Regions from separate parts of the Homo sapiens genome. Here all the other regions are linked to region 1. The links are contacts of gene promoters, found by promoter capture Hi-C in blood cells and fetal thymus (Javierre and others, 2016). All regions are on one chromosome and are shown on one strand. The core of a region is centred on a gene start or on the middle of the fragment in contact, and the rest is flanking DNA. Distances in the headings are between cores, read along the strand shown. Region 1 holds the start of IVL (involucrin). Region 2 has its middle 24 kb from the start of PGLYRP3. Region 3 has its middle 9.7 kb from the start of LORICRIN. Region 4 has its middle 8.0 kb from the start of LORICRIN. Region 5 has its middle 4.0 kb from the start of LCE3E. Region 6 has its middle 15 kb from the start of PRR9. Region 7 has its middle 6.2 kb from the start of PRR9.

Evidence for each region. Contacts are between HindIII fragments. The CHiCAGO score rates a contact against its expected background, and 5 or more counts as called.
Region 2: a contact is called between a fragment that was not itself captured here and the fragment with the promoter of IVL in region 1, in 4 of 17 cell types (M1 macrophages, M2 macrophages, M0 macrophages and 1 more). The highest score is 9.3, in M1 macrophages.
Region 3: a contact is called between a fragment that was not itself captured here and the fragment with the promoter of IVL in region 1, in 1 of 17 cell types (M2 macrophages). The highest score is 7.2, in M2 macrophages.
Region 4: a contact is called between a fragment that was not itself captured here and the fragment with the promoter of IVL in region 1, in 3 of 17 cell types (endothelial precursors, M2 macrophages and erythroblasts). The highest score is 6.1, in endothelial precursors.
Region 5: a contact is called between a fragment that was not itself captured here and the fragment with the promoter of IVL in region 1, in 1 of 17 cell types (naive CD4 T cells). The highest score is 5.4, in naive CD4 T cells.
Region 6: a fragment that was not itself captured here is called in contact with the fragment with the promoter of IVL in region 1 in 7 of 17 cell types (endothelial precursors, megakaryocytes, erythroblasts and 4 more); the score reaches 10.4 in endothelial precursors.
Region 7: a fragment that was not itself captured here is called in contact with the fragment with the promoter of IVL in region 1 in 7 of 17 cell types (M2 macrophages, M1 macrophages, M0 macrophages and 4 more); the score reaches 10.3 in M2 macrophages.

The regions. Positions count from the first base shown.
Region 1 is chr1:152,907,188-152,910,006 of GRCh38, forward strand. It overlaps IVL (involucrin), which reads left to right and starts at 1,359. Exons shown (of 2, transcript NM_005547.4): 1 at 1,359-1,402; 2 at 2,592-2,819. The coding sequence starts at 2,611. RefSeq lists promoters at 1-2,599, 460-1,399, 1,119-1,353, enhancers at 1-126, 1-41, 960-1,239, a cis regulatory region at 709-1,205 and silencers at 974-1,026, 1,399-2,599. The HindIII fragment of the contact is 6,184 bases long and covers 1-2,819 here.
Region 2 is chr1:153,287,343-153,290,161 of GRCh38, forward strand. No RefSeq gene overlaps it. Among named protein-coding and RNA genes, the nearest start is that of PGLYRP3, 24 kb to the right of the region's middle. The HindIII fragment of the contact is 786 bases long and covers 1,068-1,853 here.
Region 3 is chr1:153,268,010-153,270,828 of GRCh38, forward strand. No RefSeq gene overlaps it. Among named protein-coding and RNA genes, the nearest start is that of LORICRIN, 9.7 kb to the left of the region's middle. The HindIII fragment of the contact is 3,713 bases long and covers 1-2,819 here.
Region 4 is chr1:153,250,293-153,253,111 of GRCh38, forward strand. No RefSeq gene overlaps it. Among named protein-coding and RNA genes, the nearest start is that of LORICRIN, 8.0 kb to the right of the region's middle. The HindIII fragment of the contact is 3,465 bases long and covers 1-2,819 here.
Region 5 is chr1:152,569,383-152,572,201 of GRCh38, forward strand. No RefSeq gene overlaps it. Among named protein-coding and RNA genes, the nearest start is that of LCE3E, 4.0 kb to the left of the region's middle. The HindIII fragment of the contact is 545 bases long and covers 1,061-1,605 here.
Region 6 is chr1:153,230,853-153,233,671 of GRCh38, forward strand. No RefSeq gene overlaps it. Among named protein-coding and RNA genes, the nearest start is that of PRR9, 15 kb to the left of the region's middle. The HindIII fragment of the contact is 3,185 bases long and covers 1-2,819 here.
Region 7 is chr1:153,209,971-153,212,789 of GRCh38, forward strand. No RefSeq gene overlaps it. Among named protein-coding and RNA genes, the nearest start is that of PRR9, 6.2 kb to the right of the region's middle. The HindIII fragment of the contact is 524 bases long and covers 1,089-1,612 here.

The DNA of each region.
Region 1 (2,819 bases), core at 109-2,608:
GGTATAGTGGAAAACATACCAGGTATACGCTGCTCTTAGCTTATTTTCCAGTGGGAAAGATAGACAATAAGCAAGTGAACAAATGCAAATAAATTACTCTAGATTGTTATAAGTGAAATTAAGTACCAATCCTTTAGATATGGTACACAGAGAAGGATCTCTGACAGACCCCAACATTGACACTGAAGCTGAAAGGCATAAAAGAACCAGAGACCTGGGGAGGGGCCGGTGGGCAGAAGGAGAGCAGGTGCCAAGCCCCCAGGTGGAGAGCTCTGGGCTCATCTCAGGAACCGAAGGCCCTCAGTGAGGTAAGAATATACCTCTCAGGGAGAGATTGACATGAATTGGGGCCCCAGAAGAAGGCAGAAGCCAGGTACCCAGGGTCTTTTAAACCACGGCAGTGAGTTTGAATGTTATTTCAAGTGTGCTGGTGCACTGTTGGCACGGGGGAGAGATGTGCTCAAATCCCCACTCTGAAAGATTTCTTAAGCTATTTCTAGAGTATGATTTACAACAGGAAATGGATGATTTGATTCTGATCTTTATACCTTCATGCATTTAAAAAAGTACTTAAGAAAGTAGTTTGGTTTGTCATTATAAAAAGCAATACTTATTTTTATATTGTGTAGATTCAATCTTGTTTCCTTGCCTAGAGTGGGCCGTGCTTTGGAGTTCTTATGAGCATGGCATTCCTGAGAACTTCTCTAACTGCAGCCTCGGGCATAGAGGCTGGGCAGCAAGTGGCAGCAGCAGAGGACTCCTAGAAGCCTTCTACTTGACTCTACTTGGCCTAAAGTCAAACTCCCTCCACCAAAGACAGAGTTTATTTCCACATAGGATGGAGTTAAAAAATATATTCTGAGAGAGGAAGGGCTTGTGGCCCAAGAGAACACCCCAGAAATACCACCCCTTCATGGGAAGTGACTCTATCTTCAAACATATAACCCAGCCTGGACATCCCCGAAAGACACATAACTTTCCATTTCATGCCCTTGAAAGTGAATCTTTTGGCCTAATAATGAGAACAAACTCATTTTGAAAGTGGAAAAATTGAGATTCAGAGCAGAAGTTTGACTAAGGTCACAAAACAGTAGGATGCCTCACTCAGCTCCCTGTGCCTAGGTCAGAAAAGCATCACAGGAATAGTTGAGCTACCAGAATCCTCTGGCCAGGCAGGAGCTGTGTGTCCCTGGGAAATGGGGCCCTAAAGGGTTTGCTGCTTAAGATGCCTGTGGTGAGTCAGGAAGGGGTTAGAGGAAGTTGACCAACTAGAGTGGTGAAACCTGTCCATCACCTTCAACCTGGAGGGAGGCCAGGCTGCAGAATGATATAAAGAGTGCCCTGACTCCTGCTCAGCTCAGCACTCCACCAAAGCCTCTGCCTCAGCCTTACTGTGAGTCTGGTAAGTGTCGGATGGTAGAACCAGGGTTGGGACTCGGGACCTCCAACAGCATACGATGTGGTGGGGGTGGGCAGCCTGGGTGGGGGTGGGCATTACTCTGGGGCTGGATTCAGCTGGACTTTCATTCTAGGGGGACTCGAGTCAGAGTACTGAGAGAAAAGTGCCTTGGCACAGAAGTGCAGAACAGAGAGTAATCATCCTATGTCCCATCTTTTCTTGTGACCATATTTTTGGATTTGTGTGTGAGAGAGAATTATGGAAGGGAGGAGGGGAATAGCATTCAACTTCTTTCCTAAACCTCTTGGGTTTTGACAGACCATCATTTTGCCTTCTTTATGGAGGGAGAGGTTCAGGGAAGAGCTTCTACCTTTTGGCTATGCTGCACAGAGGGATGGCAGAATGGGGAAACCTTTCTATTTGGAGAAACCTAGGCAGAGCTGGGACAGGAAAACTCAACTTAGAAGTATAAGACTTGGAAGAACAACCTCCAACTCTCAGCAACCTTCCAGCTCCCGCAGCCCCACCCCAGACACAAGGACTGCAGCTAAACCTCAGAAGGTCAGGAGAGAAAGCAGCCCTGGGGTTGAATAGGCCAACCTGCTGGCTTTACAGGGGGGAAAACCAAATCCCAGGAGACTAAGTGACATGCCCAGAAACACACAGCATTCCAATGGGAGATTCAGGCCTAGAGCATGTCCTGTGGCTCCAGTCTGGAGGTCACACCATGACCTCTTAGGTCCTCTCTGGCACGGCCTATTGGTTTTCTAGGACTTGGTGTTCTCCAAGAGACATTTCATTCCCTAAGGCCTTACTCCTCACTGTGACATAATCCCAGAACGCATCTCTGCTCCTTGGTCAGTGAAGCGATGAGGGTGGACACAAGGACTAGACAAGAGCAGACAGTGAGCTGGCACCTGACCCACCCTTGCAGAACAGCCCTGCAGACAGATCTCCTTGTTGGCTCTCACCTGGGAACAAGGAGGCTCCTAGGAGGACCTTTCTCTGCCCCTCCACATTTCCACCCTTCTCTCTCTGCTGCTTTTGGGAAATGATAGTCCAGAGGTGGTAGAACAGTACCCTGCCCAAGGGAAGAGGGGATGCTAAAAAACCAGATACTTCTGCAGATTCCCAAGGTTTCATCTATTTCCTTTGCCTTCAGCCTGTGCATCAGACCTCTTCTGTCTTTCAGGTTGACAGTAGCTTCTAAGATGTCCCAGCAACACACACTGCCAGTGACCCTCTCCCCTGCCCTCAGTCAGGAGCTCCTCAAGACTGTTCCTCCTCCAGTCAATACCCATCAGGAGCAAATGAAACAGCCAACTCCACTGCCTCCCCCATGCCAGAAGGTGCCTGTCGAGCTCCCAGTGGAGGTCCCATCAAAGCAAGAGGAAAAGCACATGACTGCTGTAAAGGGACT
Region 2 (2,819 bases), core at 211-2,710, 380 kb after region 1:
GACCGATTAAGAGGCTATTGCAGCACTTCAGGTAAAGGTGACTTGAACCAGAGTGGTAGCAAGAGAGGGGCTGAGAAGTGGCTGAAATAATATATTTTTAAGGCAGAGCCAGCCAGATGAGGAGAATGGGAGGAAAGAAGAAGTCAGTGGTGACCCAAGGTTTTTGTCATTTGGCTACAGATCATGAAGCTCCATGCAGGCTCCATAGCATGAATCAAGCATAAGAGTCCTTCCACATCTCACCCTTGGCTTACTATATGAACACCACACTGTTACCAACATGCCTGGTTCAGTATTAGGGTGGTGTGCCCAAAGTTCACTTGGAGAGCTAAGGGCAGGCTCAGGGTCAGTTGGCCACAATACCAGGCCTGAGAGTGGAAGTGCCATTTACTGAGGTGAGGAAGACTGTGGTAGGAGAGCTTTTGAGGCAAGATCAAGAGTTTGGCTTTGGGCATGAATTAGATGTTCTATGACACACACACATTGAGAGATAAATACATGGCAGAATTTGAACCTGTATTAAAGAAAAATGTGGTCGGGTGCAGTGGCTCACGCCTATAATTGCAGCACTTTGGGAGGCCGAGGTGGGCAGATCACCTGAGGTCAGGAGATAAGAGACCAGCCTGATCAACAATGTGAAACCCCATCTGTACTAAAAATACAAAAATTAGCCAGGCGTGGTGGTGGGCACCTGTAATCCCAGCTATTCAGGAGGCTGAGGCAGGAGAATCGCTTGAACCCGGGAGACGGAGGTTGCAGTGAGCTAAGATCGCACCACTGCACTCCAGCCTGGGAGACAGAGAGAGACTCTGTCTCAAAAAAAAAAAAAAAGTTTCCACTGTAAATATAAATTTAGGAGGTAAAAGTGATGAGTTTAAAAAGAGAGCTCAAGGAATGTGAACAGGATGGGATGGAAGGAAGGAGTGAAAAGTTGACCCTCTGAAGCTGATGTCAAGGAAGCTTTGGGAATGTGGTTGCAAGAACATTTGCAAGGTTGCAAGAAGTGGACAGAGATCCTGCCAGATGGCCTCAATTTTCTCTGCTGAGTGGTAGGGGGTTGGGAAGGAAGCTTGGGGAAAGAGGTAAAACGTGGGCATGAATATACATGAGGACAGTGCTAGCAGGAGACTAGACAGGTAGGAGACTAGTCCCAAGGCAGTGCTGGGGCCCCAGCCTGGAGGCAGGGGAGGCTTAGTTCCTCTGACCTCCAACTCTTGGGACAGACAGCCTCACCACTCTGGCCCCTGATGTGCCAAGAGCAGTTTTGTGGCCAGACGTACCAGGATGCCAACCACCCCCACCCCCCACCCGTGTAGCAAGCAACTGTCCCAGCAGGTTTGTATCTCCAGCCATTCTCCCTCCCTTTCTGTGCCTGTACCTGCTGGGTGCCCTGCCTCCTCATTAGGCAGGTCTGGGCAATGGCTCAGCTAAGGGCGCTCCCACTCCACACCCACCAGGGCTGGCCCAGCCCCAGCCCTGACCATGGAGCCAGCTCACCTGCACCACCTACTGGCGAGGCAGGGCAGGACTCCAGCGCCCTTCTGCTGCTATTCCCTAAACCCCGCTTCCACACCAACAGCCGCTGGGACTTAGGGCCCACACTAGGACTCTTAGACTCCAAAGCATTTCAGACCTGGAAAAGGCCCAGGTCACCAGTTGCAACCCCAGTTTTACAAAAGAAGATACTGAAGCTATTCGTTCATTCCACAAATATTTATGGGGCTACCATTACGTGCTGGTGTATCTGGCATCACTCAGGAGCTAGGGACGCACTGGGGAGGTCCTGCCCTCATAAATGGAACAGGCCAGTGAGGAAGACAGATATAAAATAAATAGCCACAGAATTAAAGATAAGCTTTAAATGGCGCAACGTTGGAAAGGGAAAAGTTTATGAATGAATTTATGGCTGGCAGAAGGAGGGCTCCTCTCTGAAGACATGACCTTAAGACTGGAAACTGAAGGTTGAATATAAATTGGCCAGAAAAAGAAATGAAGGTGGGAGAAACATTCTAGACAGAGGAAACAGTATGTGAGAAGGCCCTGATGTCCACAGCCTATGAACAGAAGGCCCTGTCAACAATGGGGCTCCGGAGCTCTGGGGCTCCGACTCACCTCATGAGGAGAAGAGCCCGTGAGGCACATATCTGTTGTCTGGTGGGTCCATCCCTCCCTCATCCCCCTCATCTCTAAATGAAAGCCCTCCTAAGGGAAGGCAATATTGCTTGCTCTTACTTTAGTCGGTTTGAACATATGTATTTTATCCTTCAACTTCATAATATTGTGAGTTCTTCCTCTCTTTCCTTTAGATAGCAACCCAGAGAATTTCACTGTTGCCCAAATTTGACAGAATAGCAAACCAAGAAGGTTGATCAAGTATCCTTGGCTTCATTGAAACTAGCATCTAAACCAAGACTCCCTGTGCTTTTAAACAGCAACACACCTTTAACTTCCTTAAACACCAGAAGGCTATGCATCATGAAGCTCCATGCAGACTCCACAGCACTAATCAAGCATAAGAGTCCTTCCACGTGTCACCCTTGGCTTACTATATGAACACCACACTGTTACCAACATGCCTGGTTCAGTATTAGGGTGGTGTGCCCAAAGTTCACTTGGAGGGCTAAGGGCCAGCTCATGGTCACTTGGCCACAATACCATAAAATGCACCCCTGAAATATGAACCTCATCACATGTGTGTAAAAAGACTAAGAGAAGAAAGGCAAGTAGGAATGAAGTTAAGGGATATTCTTGCCTTTCAGGGAAAGTCAATAATGAAAATTCCAGATTTGGGATCCATAAGAATATTGGTGATAAATGAA
Region 3 (2,819 bases), core at 135-2,634, 360 kb after region 1:
TTATCAGAAAATATGTTGAATTTCATCAAATGTTTTTTCTACATCTATTGGGAGTGATTCATATGGTTTTTGTCCTTCATTCTGTTCATGTGGTGCATCACATTTATAGATTTGCATTTTTAAACCACCCTTTCATTCACAAAACAAGTCCCACTTCATCATAGTGAATGATCCTTTCAATGTGCTTTTTTTTTTTTTTTTTTTTTTTGAGATGGAATCTCACTCCGTTGCCCAGGCTGGAGTGCAGTGGTGTGATCTTGACTCACTGCAACCTCCACCTCCCTGGTTCAAGCAATTCCCCTGCCTCAGCCTCCCTAGTAGCTGGGATTACAGGTGCACGCCACCACACCCTGCAATTTTTTTTTTTTTTTTTTTTTTTTTTTTTTTTTTTTTGTATTTTTAATAGAGACAGGGTTTCACCATGTTGGCCAGACTGGTCATGAATTCCTGACCTCAGGCAATCCACCCGCCTCGGCCTCCCAAAGTGCTGGGATTACAGGCGTGAGCCACCACACTCGGCCCTTTTTAACTCAGTGTACTAATAACTTTGTTGAAGATTTTTACATCTGTGTTCATCAGGGACATTGGGTTCTAATTTTCTTTTCTTGTAGTGTTCTATCTGACTTTGATTTCAGGGTAATTCTAGCCTCATAAAATGAGTTTGAAAGTATTCCCTTGTCTTTCATTTTTGGAAGAGCTTGGAAAGGATTGATATTAGTTCTTTAAATGTTTGGTAGAATTGAGCAGTGAAGCCATTGGATCCTGGGATTTTCTTTGATGGAAGACTTTTTATAACTAATTTAATCTCCCTACTAGTTATTGATCTGTTCAGATTTTATATTTCTTTGGGATTCAGTTCGATAGCTTGAATATTTCTAGGAATTTGTTCATTTCTTCCAGGCTATCCAATTTATTGGTATGTAATAATTATTCATAGTAGTCTCTTACGATCCTTTGTATTTCTCTTGTATCAGTTGTAATGTCTCCTCTTTCATTTCTGATTCTATTTATTTGAGTATTCTCTTTTTTTCCTAAGTAGTCCAGCTAAAGGTTTGTTGATTTTATCTTTTCAAAAAACCAACTCAAGGTTTGTTGATCTTTTCCACTGTTTCTTTTTCCTCTACTGCATTTATTTCTGCTATTATCTTTATTATTTCCATTCTTCTGCTAACTTTGGACTTATTTTATTCTTGTTTTCCTAGTTCCCTGAGATGTTATTTTAAGTTGTTTATTCAGGACCTTTATTCCTTTTTGATGTAGGCATTTATTGCTGTAAACTTCACTCAGAGATACTTGTGCTGTTCCCTTTATGTCTGGGTATGTTGTGTGTCTATTTTTGCTTGTCTCAAGATATTTTGTAATTTCCCTTTTAAGTTTTTCATTGACGCATTGATTGTTCAGCAGGGTATTGTATAATTTCCACGTATTTGTAAATTTTCCAAAATTCTTCTTGTTATTGATTCCTTGTTTCATACCATTAAGGTCAGAAAAGATGCTTGATATGATTTTAATCTTCTTATTTGTTAAGACTTGTCTTGTTGTCTAACATATGATCTATCCTGTAGAATGTTCTGTGTGTGCTTAAGAAGAATGTGCATTCTTTACCATTTGGTGGAATGTTCTGTATATGTCTGTTAGGTTCGTTCAGTCTAGAATGTAGTTTAAGTACAATGTTTTCTTATTGATTGTCTGTGTAGATTATCTGTCCATTACTAGAAGTGGGATATTGAAGTCACCTGCTGTTATTGTATTATAATCTATCTTTCCTTTCAGGTGTATTAATATTTGCCTTATATATTTAGGTGCTCCAATGTTGGTTGCATAAACATTTACAATTGTTATATTCTCTTGATTCATTGACTCCTTTGTCATTCTACAATGACCTCCTTTGCCTTGCTTTACAGTTTTTTACTTAGAGCCTATTTTATCTGATGTAAATATAACTACTCCTGCCATCTTTTGTGTTTCATTTGCATAGAATATTTTTTGTTATCCCTTCACTTTCAGTCTATGTGTGTTCTTACAGGTGAAATGAGTCTCTTATAGGCAGCAATAGATGGATCTTGATTTTTTAATCCATTCGGTCACTACATGTTTTTTGATTGAGAATTTAATCCATTTACATTCAAGGAAGTATTGATAGGTAAAGACGACTGTCATTTTTTTAATTGTTTTCTGGTTTTATTGTAGATCCTTTGTTCTTTTCTTCCTCTCTTACTGTCTTCCTTTGTAATTAAGTGATTTTCTCTAGAGGTTTGCATTGATTTATTACTTTTATCTTTTGTTTATCTACTATAGGTTTTTGTTTTGTGGGTTACCTTGAGGTTACAAAAACATCTTATAGTTATAACTGGTTATTTTAAACAGATAACAACTATGTTCACATAAAAATAACTTTATGCTTTTACTTCACCCCTCCCCCATAAATTTAATATTTTTCATTTTAAATTTTTGATGTCACGATTTACATCTTTTTGTACTGTATATCCCTTAACAAATTATTGTAGCTATTATTATTTTTAATAGCTTAGTCTTTTAACTTTCATACTAAAGATATAAGGAATTTACACATCACCATTACAGCATTAAAGCATTTTAAATTTGACTATATAATACTTTTACCCTGTGAGTTTTATATTTTCTATGTTTTTGTGTTGCTAACCAGTGCCCTTTTCTTTCATCTTAAAGAATTCCCTTTAGCATTTCTTGTAATATAGGTCTGGTGGTGATGAACTCTCCTGGCTTTTGTTTGTCTGAGAAAGTCTTTATCTATCCTTCATTTCTGAAGGGCAGATTTGCTGGGTACAGTATTCTACATT
Region 4 (2,819 bases), core at 191-2,690, 340 kb after region 1:
GGACAAATCCAGTAACAGTTGCTGCAAATACACAGTAACAATGCAGTTACCATAGACACCAAGGCTGGCTGACAAGTGAGAATCCGAGAGCAATCCTCAGGCCAGGAAAGAGGGCCAGCAATCCTGTTCACATTTCCAGGAGAAAGGAAACTGGTTCTTGAGGAAGAGTAGGGTGTGAGGACAGAGATTAAAGACAGTGGAGGTCTGAGACACACAGACACACATAGGAATATGTACACACATCACACACATACAGTGCACACATATTACACATGTGTATGTAGACATTTGTACACATATCACACATATGTACACACATAACATACAGCTATATGTGCATGCCATACCAAGAGACATGTGTACGCACAACACATGCACACACAGATGTGTACACTCATCACACACAGGCACATGTATGTGCATCACATATACACAGATTGACATGTACACAGATCACACATATGACAGACATATGTGCACACATAACAGATATATGTACATACCACATACAAAGGCATGTGTACACACATAACACATGCAGACAGACGTGTATGCTCATCACACAGGCATGTACATGTACATCACATATACACATATTGACATGTACAGAGATCATACATATGACAGACATGTACGCACACCACACACAGAAACGTCTACACCCATACCCATAGATATATGTACACATATATGCACAGAGATGTGCACACACTGCACCATATGCACACATTTACACTCATACACATGAAAGCAACATGAAAGTCAAAGTCCGAATCTGGAAAAACCTCTGTCAACAATTTTTACTGTTTTCCAATCCTATCTCAAAACTCACTCTTTCCAGAAGACTTTTCCAGTTGCTTCTCTTCTCTGCATCCCCTCATCCCCCCGGCAATGGGCTAGCACTTCTCTCAAGCATTCTATTACAGAATGACTTATTTTCCACATGCCACCACTAAGCTGTCTGCTTCCCTCTTCCCCTTCCTCATGCCCTCTCACACACATACCAAAAGGGGCCACTTCAGACCACACATGCCCAGGGGAATCCTGGTTCAGAAGCCTGTGAAGAGAAGAGAGCTTTAAAAAGACAAGATGGAAACCGCATTTTGGGGAAAATCAATGATTCTGTGGATCTAGACAGAGTCTGGGGGAACCAAGGCTTATACACAAGGAAGTTGGGGGGCCAAGAAGTAAAGGTTTGAGATAAAAGAGGGTATTTCACCACACAAACCTTTCTCCTCACCTACTATGCAGCCAACACTGTGTATACAAAGAAAGATAAGGTCCCTTCCAGCAGCCTACCAGGGAGACAACCAAGATCTGGAGAAATTCAAGAGAGCGTTCTCAAGGGTACAGTGGACACAGGACAGCTGGAAGGTGTACATGGTAAGAATGGGAGTGGGCCACGGAGACCAGCCATTAAAGCTAGTAGTCATGGAGTCCATGGCGTGACATGGGGGTCCAGGTCTGTGCATGATGACACTGCCATATGGAGAGTCAGCAGCCAAAATTGAGAGTTTGTAGAAAGAGGAAGTATAAATTAAGAGAAAAAACACAAGAACAAGATTAAAATACTCAACAACATTTGAAATACTACAACTTACCAGCTGTATTTGGATGATGGAATTATAGGTGACTTTTTTTTTTTTGGCTTTGCTTTTCAAATTTGTAGCAAATTTTTTTTTCTTTTTTTGGTTTTAATTTTTGTAGCAGAATGATTTACTAAGGATAAGGGGCCAGCTCCACCACCAGGGGATTCCCTGCTGCAGGCACACATGCACACCTGTAGACATATGAACACACGTCACACAAATTAATCCTTCCTCTGGGATCTGAAGTGGCATACACTAATTGCAGGAGGATCTAAAGCAACGCAGCCTGCCCACATGCCTTTCTTAATCCTGTGCAATTATACGCACCCTGGGTGATGACACTCGCAGAGGTTATTCTTAAGGCAAGATTACTTTCCTCACCCTGCCCTCCTGCTGCACCCTCCCTTTTCCTGCATACTCAGCTCAGGTGGGAAATGCTCTCTGGGAGAAAAATTCCCAAAATTCCATTGATTTGAGCCTAAGGCTGGCATACAGGGAGGTATGACATTTTTATGCTCTTTTCCCATTGGCCTGTGATCCTTGTCAACCCACCTAGCTTCTTCCCTGTCACTGCCTCTGACCATCCTCATCTCTCCTTCCTCTCTATCCAGAGAAGAGCCATGGGAAGGAGGCATAAAAAATATCTACTAAGATGGGAGTGGATTACATTAACTTCATAGATGGAGAAACTGAGATCTGAGGGACAAGACCTTGCCCAAGCTCACAAGGTGTTGGTGGCCAGGCAGGTTTAGAGCATTGCCCCGCTGACAAGACCCCAAGACCTCAGCAGAGGAAAGACCTTGATCCCTACCCTTCAGAACAGACCAGAAGCTAACAAACTTCCTAGCTCCCAGCAGTTTGCCATAGCAAATTTATTTAAGATACTTTCATAGAAAACAAAATCAGATTATATTTTCCCTCCTCTATGAGATTAAATTCTCATCATCTCTTTGACTGATCAACATATTTACAAATATTTACTCTGAGGTCCAGCCCTGAGTTACATGGGGATATGGAGAGTTAGGGAGATCCATATTGCCAGGGATACTCTTAGCCCAGAAGAGAAGGCCCAAGGAATCTGTGCCAGATGTAAATCATGGTTCCACAGTCCCACCTCTTGGGATTCTCTGAGCACATGGATGGAACCAGACAAAGAGGTCACTGGAGACCCACCCACCAAGCCATGATGTCACTTTTTTAAGCATTAGGAAAGTTTGCCCCAAGTCATCC
Region 5 (2,819 bases), core at 83-2,582, 340 kb before region 1:
TTAATTTTTATTCAATCTTATTTCTTTCTGTTCCTCGGGTTGGATAATCACAATTGACCTATCTTCAAGTTCACTGATTTGTTCTTCTAGTTCAAACCTGCTGTTGAGCCCTTCTAGTCAATTTTAAATTTCAGTTATTATATTTGTCAAGCCTCAAATTTCTATTTGGTTGTTTTAAGAAATTCTTTTTAATTCTTTGTTGTTATTCTCTATTTGGCAAGACAACATTCTTATGTTTTCTTTTAATTCTTAAGACGTAGTTTATTTTAGTACTTTAAGCACATTTAAAATAGTTGATTTTTATCTTTGTCTAGTAAAACCAATGTTTAAACTTCTTCAGGGACAGTCTCTCTTGACTACCTCCCTGGACTTTGCCCCTTGTGTAGGTCATACTTTCTTGTTTATTTGTAGCTTTCTTTCTTTTTTGGTTAATAATTGGACATTTAAAATGATATAAAATCCTGGAAATCAAATTTCCCAACCCTCTCTGGGGTTTGTTGCTGTTTGTTTTCACTGTCCATTTGCTTCATGACTTTCCTGAACCAATTTTGTAAAATCTGTATTCTTTATTGTGTGTAGTCATTTAACTCTGTACTCAGTTAGCTTAGTAGACAGAGATTTCCTTAAATGCCTTGAGTTAATGTCTTTCAACCTTTGCTGAGGACCTCTGTGTGTATGTTGGGGCATGTTTTCAAGACTTCAGAAGACAGTTTACAAATCTGTCTTAGGTTTCATTTCCTGCTTGGATGGAACTTCAAGATCAGTCAAAGTTGAGATATTAGGGTCTTCCCAGGTCTTTTCTGTACATGCACACACCCTGTAAGTCCACATAGTCTCCTAGATTTCCAGAAATGTGTCATAGATTTTTAAAACTCTCTATGAGAATCTCATTCCTCAGATTTTCCATCTAAGTTTTTGGTCAACTTCTGATTTGCCCAACTATTATCACCATCACAGGCAGCTGTGATGCTAAACATTTTTTACTGATTGTTTTTGGCAAACACCCTGGGGTAAAAGCTGTTTTCAGTGAGAGAGTTCTGAGTCAACTGGAATGAAAACAAGCTTGGCTAGTTGGGATTTCTAGGGGAAATGGGAATGGGATCTTCATTATGTGCCATATAGTCAGATAATGACATTTCTCTAGGGATGGGGTTTTTGGATAGTTTCAGATATGTTCTGTTACCTCCATGTGCTACTAGCATTTTAGATTTCAAGACTATTATGGCACTGGGAACAGGGAGATGATAATAGGGCAAGTTAAAATGTCACAAAGCTCACTGCTCTTACCCATATTCAACTGCTTTTCTTAAGTGAACACTCTAATATTTTTGCAAGCCTTTGGTAAATCTCCAGAGTTTTGCAAAAGTTGATTTTCACAATTTTTCATTTTCAAGGTGTTTTTAATGGAAGAGCAGATTTTTGGAGATCCTTGCTCAATCATTCCCAACCTTGTCTTCTTAAGTGAAAACATGAGTCCCTAGTTTTTCATCTGGGTCACAAACTTCACATCCAATAAGCATTATTATTTTGAGATATACAGCTCTTCTCATCACCACAGAGATGCTTCCATATAATATCCAGGTCATATATGAGAAAGTAAGATTAAGCTTTTCCTGTTTTATTGAGATTTGACAAAAATAACTGCCAACTTGTAAACAATAGGCACAAATAACTCTCCACCTTATAAAGAGGTTGGAAGGAGCCCTGAGATGCTATCACTCTTCTCTTGTTATAGTAATGAGAAGTTTTCAAAACTGGATAGAATGCTGTGGATTTTCCCCTTACATTTCACATGGGGAAGCAACAGGTTATTACTCTTACCCTCCACTAGAGGAAAAGTCATAGAAATTTCAAGGGGACAAATTGTAGAACTTATCAATGCCTAAAAAACAGAAAGACTTGGCCAGTAGCGGTGGCTCATGCTTGTAATCTCAACACTTTGGGAGGTGAAGGTGGGTGGATCACTTGAGGTCAGGAGTTCAAGACCAGCCTTGCCAACGTGGTGAAACCCCATCTATACTAAAAATACAAAAATAGCTGGGTGTGTTGGCTGGTGCCTGTAATCCCAACTACCCAGGAGGCTGAGGCAGGAGAATCGCTTGAACCAGGGAGACGGAGTTTGCAGTGAGCTGAGATTGTGCCACTGCACTCCAGCCTGGGCGGCAGAGCAAGATTCCATCTCAAAACAAAACAAAACAAAACAATAAAACACACACACACACACACACACACACGCAAAACCCAGGAAGACTAAAATTTCAGGTCTCAGTGTCATCATTGGACTTGCTGAACAGTTCTCTGGCTATTCTGGAGAGTGAAAAATAATTGGAAAGGGAAAATGGAAAGGAGAATGGGGAAAAGAGAAGCAGCCAGTCCCTTACTGCTTGACATGGCCAGAGTTCATGAGTTTCCCTGAGCCAGTGGACAGTTTGGAGGGCAGCTAGGCATAGCTGTACTGCCACAGTCCTGCTGGGAATGTGGCTATCAAGGCAAGAGGCCTGTACCAATGGGGCTAAGAGTGCAGGGGAGTGTCAAAAGAGGCCAAATTTTTCACATCAGGTCACTGTGCTAAAGGTTCCTTAAAGAAATCAGTCATTTATCTGGTAAGAGAGCCCTCATGGGTCAGCACAGAGAGGATGCAGCCACTGAGAGACACTAGCAGTACCAGCCAAATATGAGATATTTGCTTTGTCCCCCCTTTTCTCATTCCGGCCTCAAAACAGTGCAGAATAAAGGGAACCCGCAGGGGAGAGGAGGAGGTGGACAATAAATGATGGAACTAACCATGTCTCTTTTCCACACACTAGATGCCTGTTTTC
Region 6 (2,819 bases), core at 82-2,581, 320 kb after region 1:
TGCAGAGAGGTGAGGACTAGGAGATATGTGGGTACATGTCTGAAGCTCAGAGATATCTGGGCCAAAAATGTACATATTTGAGAGCTGTCATCACATAGAAGGTATTTAAAGATATGTGAGTGGCTGAGATCACCCAAGGAGAAGAAGAGAGGGCCCTACCGAGCTGAGGACTCCACAAGATCTCAAGGTTGGACAGCGCAGAAGGAGCCTGTACAGCCAGCTGACAAAGAGCGGTCAGTGAAGGAAGAGAAACTAGGAGGGTGGAGACTGGAAAGACAAGAGAAGACAGGTGTCCAAGAAAGGAAGGAAAATCAATGGAGTCAACCAATACTAACTGGTCAAGAAATGCAGAGTGGCTGGTGACCTTGATGAGGACAGCCTGAGTGGGGACACAGAGGCCAGAACAGAACAGAGTGGACTGAGGAGCAAAGGGAGGTACCAAGCAGGGCAGTCTGTGGGGTTCCTGGATGCAGCTGGATTGGTTTGCTGCTCAAAGAAAATCCCAGCTCAGACCTACTCTAGGACAGAAGAGGCCTTCATGAAAGATGCCTGGCTGCAGGTGTCCAGGTGTGGGAAGGTGAGTGGGAGGAGGCAGGACTGAGCAGCACTTCCCCAAACCAGGAGGGAAGCCAACACCGAAGCCCAGGCTTCCATTTATAGAGTTTCCACAAGTGGACCCGGACTACTCCACCCTGTTCACAAAGCAACCTCGCCTGAACCTTTGACACCAGAGGCTGAGTCAGGCCCAGATGGCAAACACACTTTAAGCCCTAATCAGACTTTGCATGGGTTTACTCAGCCCATGCCTGCTTCTCTGCCCCTACCATGTCCTCCTAGAAGAGGGAGCACCTCTTCCCCGTCACCCCCCAGAGACTCACCTGCATGAGGTTCACACACTGCACTCTCTCACACCATATACCACACACACACACGCACACACATACATACACAAAGTCAGTGTGATGATTCCAGATGCTGGAACCATGCCTCCCCTTGCCCTTTGCCAAATGCCTGCCATGCTGGCCACAGAGGCAGAAGGAAAATGACAATTCTGCCCTTTTGTAATGCATGCTACTATTTTTGTCCATCACAGGTTCCTCAATTTGAGGCCTAAGTGTTCCTAGACTTCATCCGGTGTTGGAGGAAGCCCTTGCTGCCAGGGAAGCCCCAGTGTGAAGACAGGACATAGCAAACCTCAGGGAGACCCCGGGATGAGGAAGAAGACAGCCCCACCCTCTGGAGCCTGCAGAGGGAATGCAGTGGAGAGACACAGTCCTGGCCTTAAGGTTATCCCCAGTTTGAGGAGAAAGAAAAGGTCCCTGGCCTCAGAAGATCCCCAGTGCTAATGTCCCCACAAAGTGTGAGGGTCTCCATCGTACGCATCTCTGTCCTCACCCTCTCCGGACTTGGATTTTTTAAAGATATAGTACAAAATACAAAATGAAAATCACATCCAACTTACTCACCTTTAAAGAGCCCTGATCAAAATATGACAAGTGTGTTTCTCCAGTCATATGTTGAGTACTCACCTGAAGTCTAACCCAGGCTGGAGTTAAAACATCGACTCTGACACTCCAGTCTTTATATCATCATATCTACCACCAACACATCACCCACGTTTACCTTGACCCAGTTTCAAATATGAGAATTTTAGATTCAGAGGCAGAGCAGGGGTCAAGAACTGGCGTAGAGCCAGGCTCCTCAGAATGTGGCCTGTCCCTGTTCACACGGCCCAGGCAAAGCCTCACCAGGGAACCATGCTCCAGCTCCCTGCCCCACTCCAATCCTGCAGACCCCAGGTGACATTCCTGAGGCCACACAGCCTGAGTAATGACACAGCTTAGTGGAGCTGACTCATGGAAAGAGTTGCCCCATGTGCATTTGGAGGACAAGGACAGTTGTGCAAGGTGTTTGTGACAGGCCATGAGGAGGGGCAGGACGTGAGGCAGCAAGAAGTACCAGTTGGTAATTGTCATTACTTCTACTAGAATCTCCAGGTGACAAATCTACCTCAGTGCCCATAGCCCTAGATGTTGCAAAGCAAAGCAGCACTTCCACCCACGGCCTCAAAGAGCATTAAAGAGTCACTCTGTTTCAGCTCACATGAAATCAAACCATCAGTCCATCTGACTGCCCTCTGGATCGCAGCTCTTGGCTAGGTACAAGAGCTGGGGATATGAGGTCTTTTCAGCCCCCTTATCTGTGAAAGAATGGGATTGCACTAGATGCTCTTTATGGCTTCTTCCACCTATGACATCCAGTGGTTCTAAGCAGGTCTCAACAGGGACCCTGAAGTATGTCATACATATGTGACACAAGAGGGGAACCCACTCAGAGCACCCAAGTTCAAGGTCCCAAGAAAGGAAAGCCCAGTCTCCAGCTCCATACTACAGGCTAGTGGCAAATCCCTGGCACAAAGAATGTTGGCAGTCAAATACAAATGTGAGGATCGTTCATCAAACTGGCATGCTGTGTCCATTCATCTATTCATTCATTTGATAAGCATTTAATGGGAGCCTTCTATGCCTGCTATGGAGCCAGCTACTAGATATGCAGAAAATAATAGACAAAGCCACTCCCCTCAAGGGCCTCAAAGTCAACTGGCAGAGGCAGAGGCAGAAAGAGGAAGAAAAAAAAAGCAACATGCTGAAAGAAATACAATGTTGGAGAAATGTCCAGCTTAAAAGGGGCCAGGAGAGGGATTGCCAAGGTGAGCGAGGAATCAAATTCACTGAAGACATAGTTGAGCTGTTAACACTTAAAAGAAACTGGACTTGGAACCCCCACCATCAACTTGGACTCTAATTCATGACATATAT
Region 7 (2,819 bases), core at 101-2,600, 300 kb after region 1:
AAATCCTTGAGTCTCCCCTTTGCCTAGAGGGCAGCTCAAATAACATTCTGTCATGCAAAAGCCTTCAGAATCAAGCCCCTGACTCCTTCTCTAGCCATAAGGCCATTTCTCCATCTCCTTCTAGAACTTTACAGCCCAGTAACAGGTAACTGCTGGCATTTCCTGGCACACAACACAGAGTCTCTGGCCTTTGTGACTTTACACCCCCTTCTCTATCATTTGCTCTGCCTCCACTGAATCTTCCTCTGAATGATCCTCCTGGGCAAATCCTCATCCTTTAAGTCAACTCAGGGGTCACCTGCTCCAAAAATCTTCCCCACATCCCACCCCCAAACTGGTTAGATGCCCCACTCTGTGGTCTCAGAGCTTCCATGCCTTCCTCCCCTTATCACTTCACATTCTGGCCACGTGTTCGTAACCTGACTCTCCCACCAGCCTGCCCTTTGAGAAGGGGCAGCCGGGCATGCATCGCTGACATGCAGTAATAACCAATGATTGGATGCTCAGAGGCTGCAGAGCCACTTTCCCAAACAAGAGAGGATTGCTCTGGACTGAGCCCCTGTCCACTGTGCTCCTTAATCTCGTGGCATGGAGTTATCCCCAGAATGCGACAGCGGGGAGAGGGGAAGGGGACTCAGCATGAATGGCCTGGGGCTGAAAGGCAGCCCTGGCCCTTGTTGCAGTCTTGTCCTTGGCCACTTTCCCCTTCAGCCACAAGATACAGATCCTGCCAGCCCTCCTAATGCCTTGCCAGGAAGATGCAGTCTACCTCCATGTGGGTCCCTCACCTCGGGCAGCAGCAAGGAAAGGGAAAGGGCTTGGCATCCTACAGACATGGGCTCCAAGCAAGCACTGCACCAGCCAGCTGTGGAGCCGGGCAAAATGCTTCGCCTCAGTGGGAGAAGGGAGCTCTTCACCTGAGGAATGAGAAGAAAAGTCTCACCAAGGGGCAAGGTGGGGTGATGAAGTCAGATAACTTATATCAAGCCCCTAGTGTGGGCAACTGAACTTAGGAAGCCAAGATGCCAACAGTACTCTAGTATCTATGTACACACTCGGAGTCACAACTCATCACCTACTGCAGCAAAAGCTTCCTGCTATCTGTTGTGAGAAGCAGTGCATTTGAGGGAGAAACAGGGAGTTCCACAAAAGGATGACAAATATCTCTGAAGGCAAGTAGAGTTAGGGGCCACCTCACCACCCCATTCCCAGGTTGGGCCCACAGTAGGAGCCAGAAGGAGATGCTCATATTGCCGAATATCAGAGCTGAACGTGGCATTTAAAATATCCTCAGTGTCTACATGAGGAAGCGAAGGTCCAGAGAGGGGAACAACCAAAGTCACAGCGTGTCGGTTGTAGAAAGCATCCAGGATTTCTAATCCTGATTTAGGCCAAGGTTCGCCAGAAATCAAACTCAAAAGGGAAAAAGTTGAAGATCTACAACAAATTTAAGTAACTGGGGAACATCCTTCCTCCCCACCATCTGTGTTGGTGATCTTTGACCTGAAGTCCCTGAACACCCTATAGATGACGGCATGTACATGTGAGTATTTCCTGTGATCCCAAACTGTGAACAGCCACTGGCTGGTCTGTGTCTTTGTTGTCTTCCCAAAGCTTATAAGGAATCCCCAATACACTGGTCTGCTAAGTGTTTTTGTTTTTGTTTTTTAATTATTATACTTTAAGTTTTAGGGTACATGTGCACATTGTGCAGGTTAGTTACATATGTATACATGTGCCATGCTGGTGCGCTGCACCCACTAACTCGTCATCTAGCATTAGGTATATCTCCCGATGCTATCCCTCCCCCCTCCCCCCACCCCACAACAGTCCCCAGAGTGTGATATTCCCCTTCCTGTGTCCATGTGATCTCATTGTTCAATTCCCACCTATGAGTGAGAATATGCGGTGTTTGGTTTTTTGTTCTTGCGATAGTTTACTGAGAATGATGATTTCCAATTTCATCCATGTCCCTACAAAGGACATGAACTCATCATTTTTTATGGCTGCATAGCATTCCATGGTGTATATGTGCCACATTTTCTTAATCCAGTCTATCATTGTTGGACATTTGGGTTGGTTCCATTACTGGGTATATACCCAAAGGACTATAAATCATGCTGCTATAAAGACACATGCACACGTATGTTTATTGCGGCATTATTGACAATAGCTAAGTGTTTTTTATGTGGACCATTGCCCAGACCAGACATGAGCTGACCACGTAATCTTGAACAAGATCTTTGACACTTTTGTGCCTCAGTTTCCTCATCTAAAAAACGCAGTCAATAAATAGTTCTGTGTCTCCTGTTTAAAGCACGTGCTGGGGCTAAAACAAGGAGATAGAATCAGGTGGCCTCTCAAGTCCCGTCTGGCCCTGAGGGCTTGTGATTTACAGCTCTTTCCTGAATTCACACCTCTGATTCAGACCCCCTGTGTGGGTGACACAGGAGGAAAGGAAGGGAGAGGAGTGGTGGACTTCCTCCCAGGAATTCGCAAGCTGCCCAGGGGCACCCGCTCTGCAGGAAACCAAATTCTGCACCATTCAGCTCTATCAGAGACATTGCCCTGTAATATGCAGATGAATGGGTCAGAGGAGTCTGAGGACTTTTAAGATCTGAACAGAGGAGATAGTTATTTGATGGGAATGGGAGAAAAAAAAACTGTCTTGCACACACCTGAGACTCTTCTGCTGATCCTGTCTAATTATGCCCTGGCTCCCAATAATGACAGCTCCAAAAGTCTAAAATCTTAAATCTCAGATGTCATTAAATCAGATTAACTCCAATCTTGCTGGAGGGCTGGGGATGATCACAGAA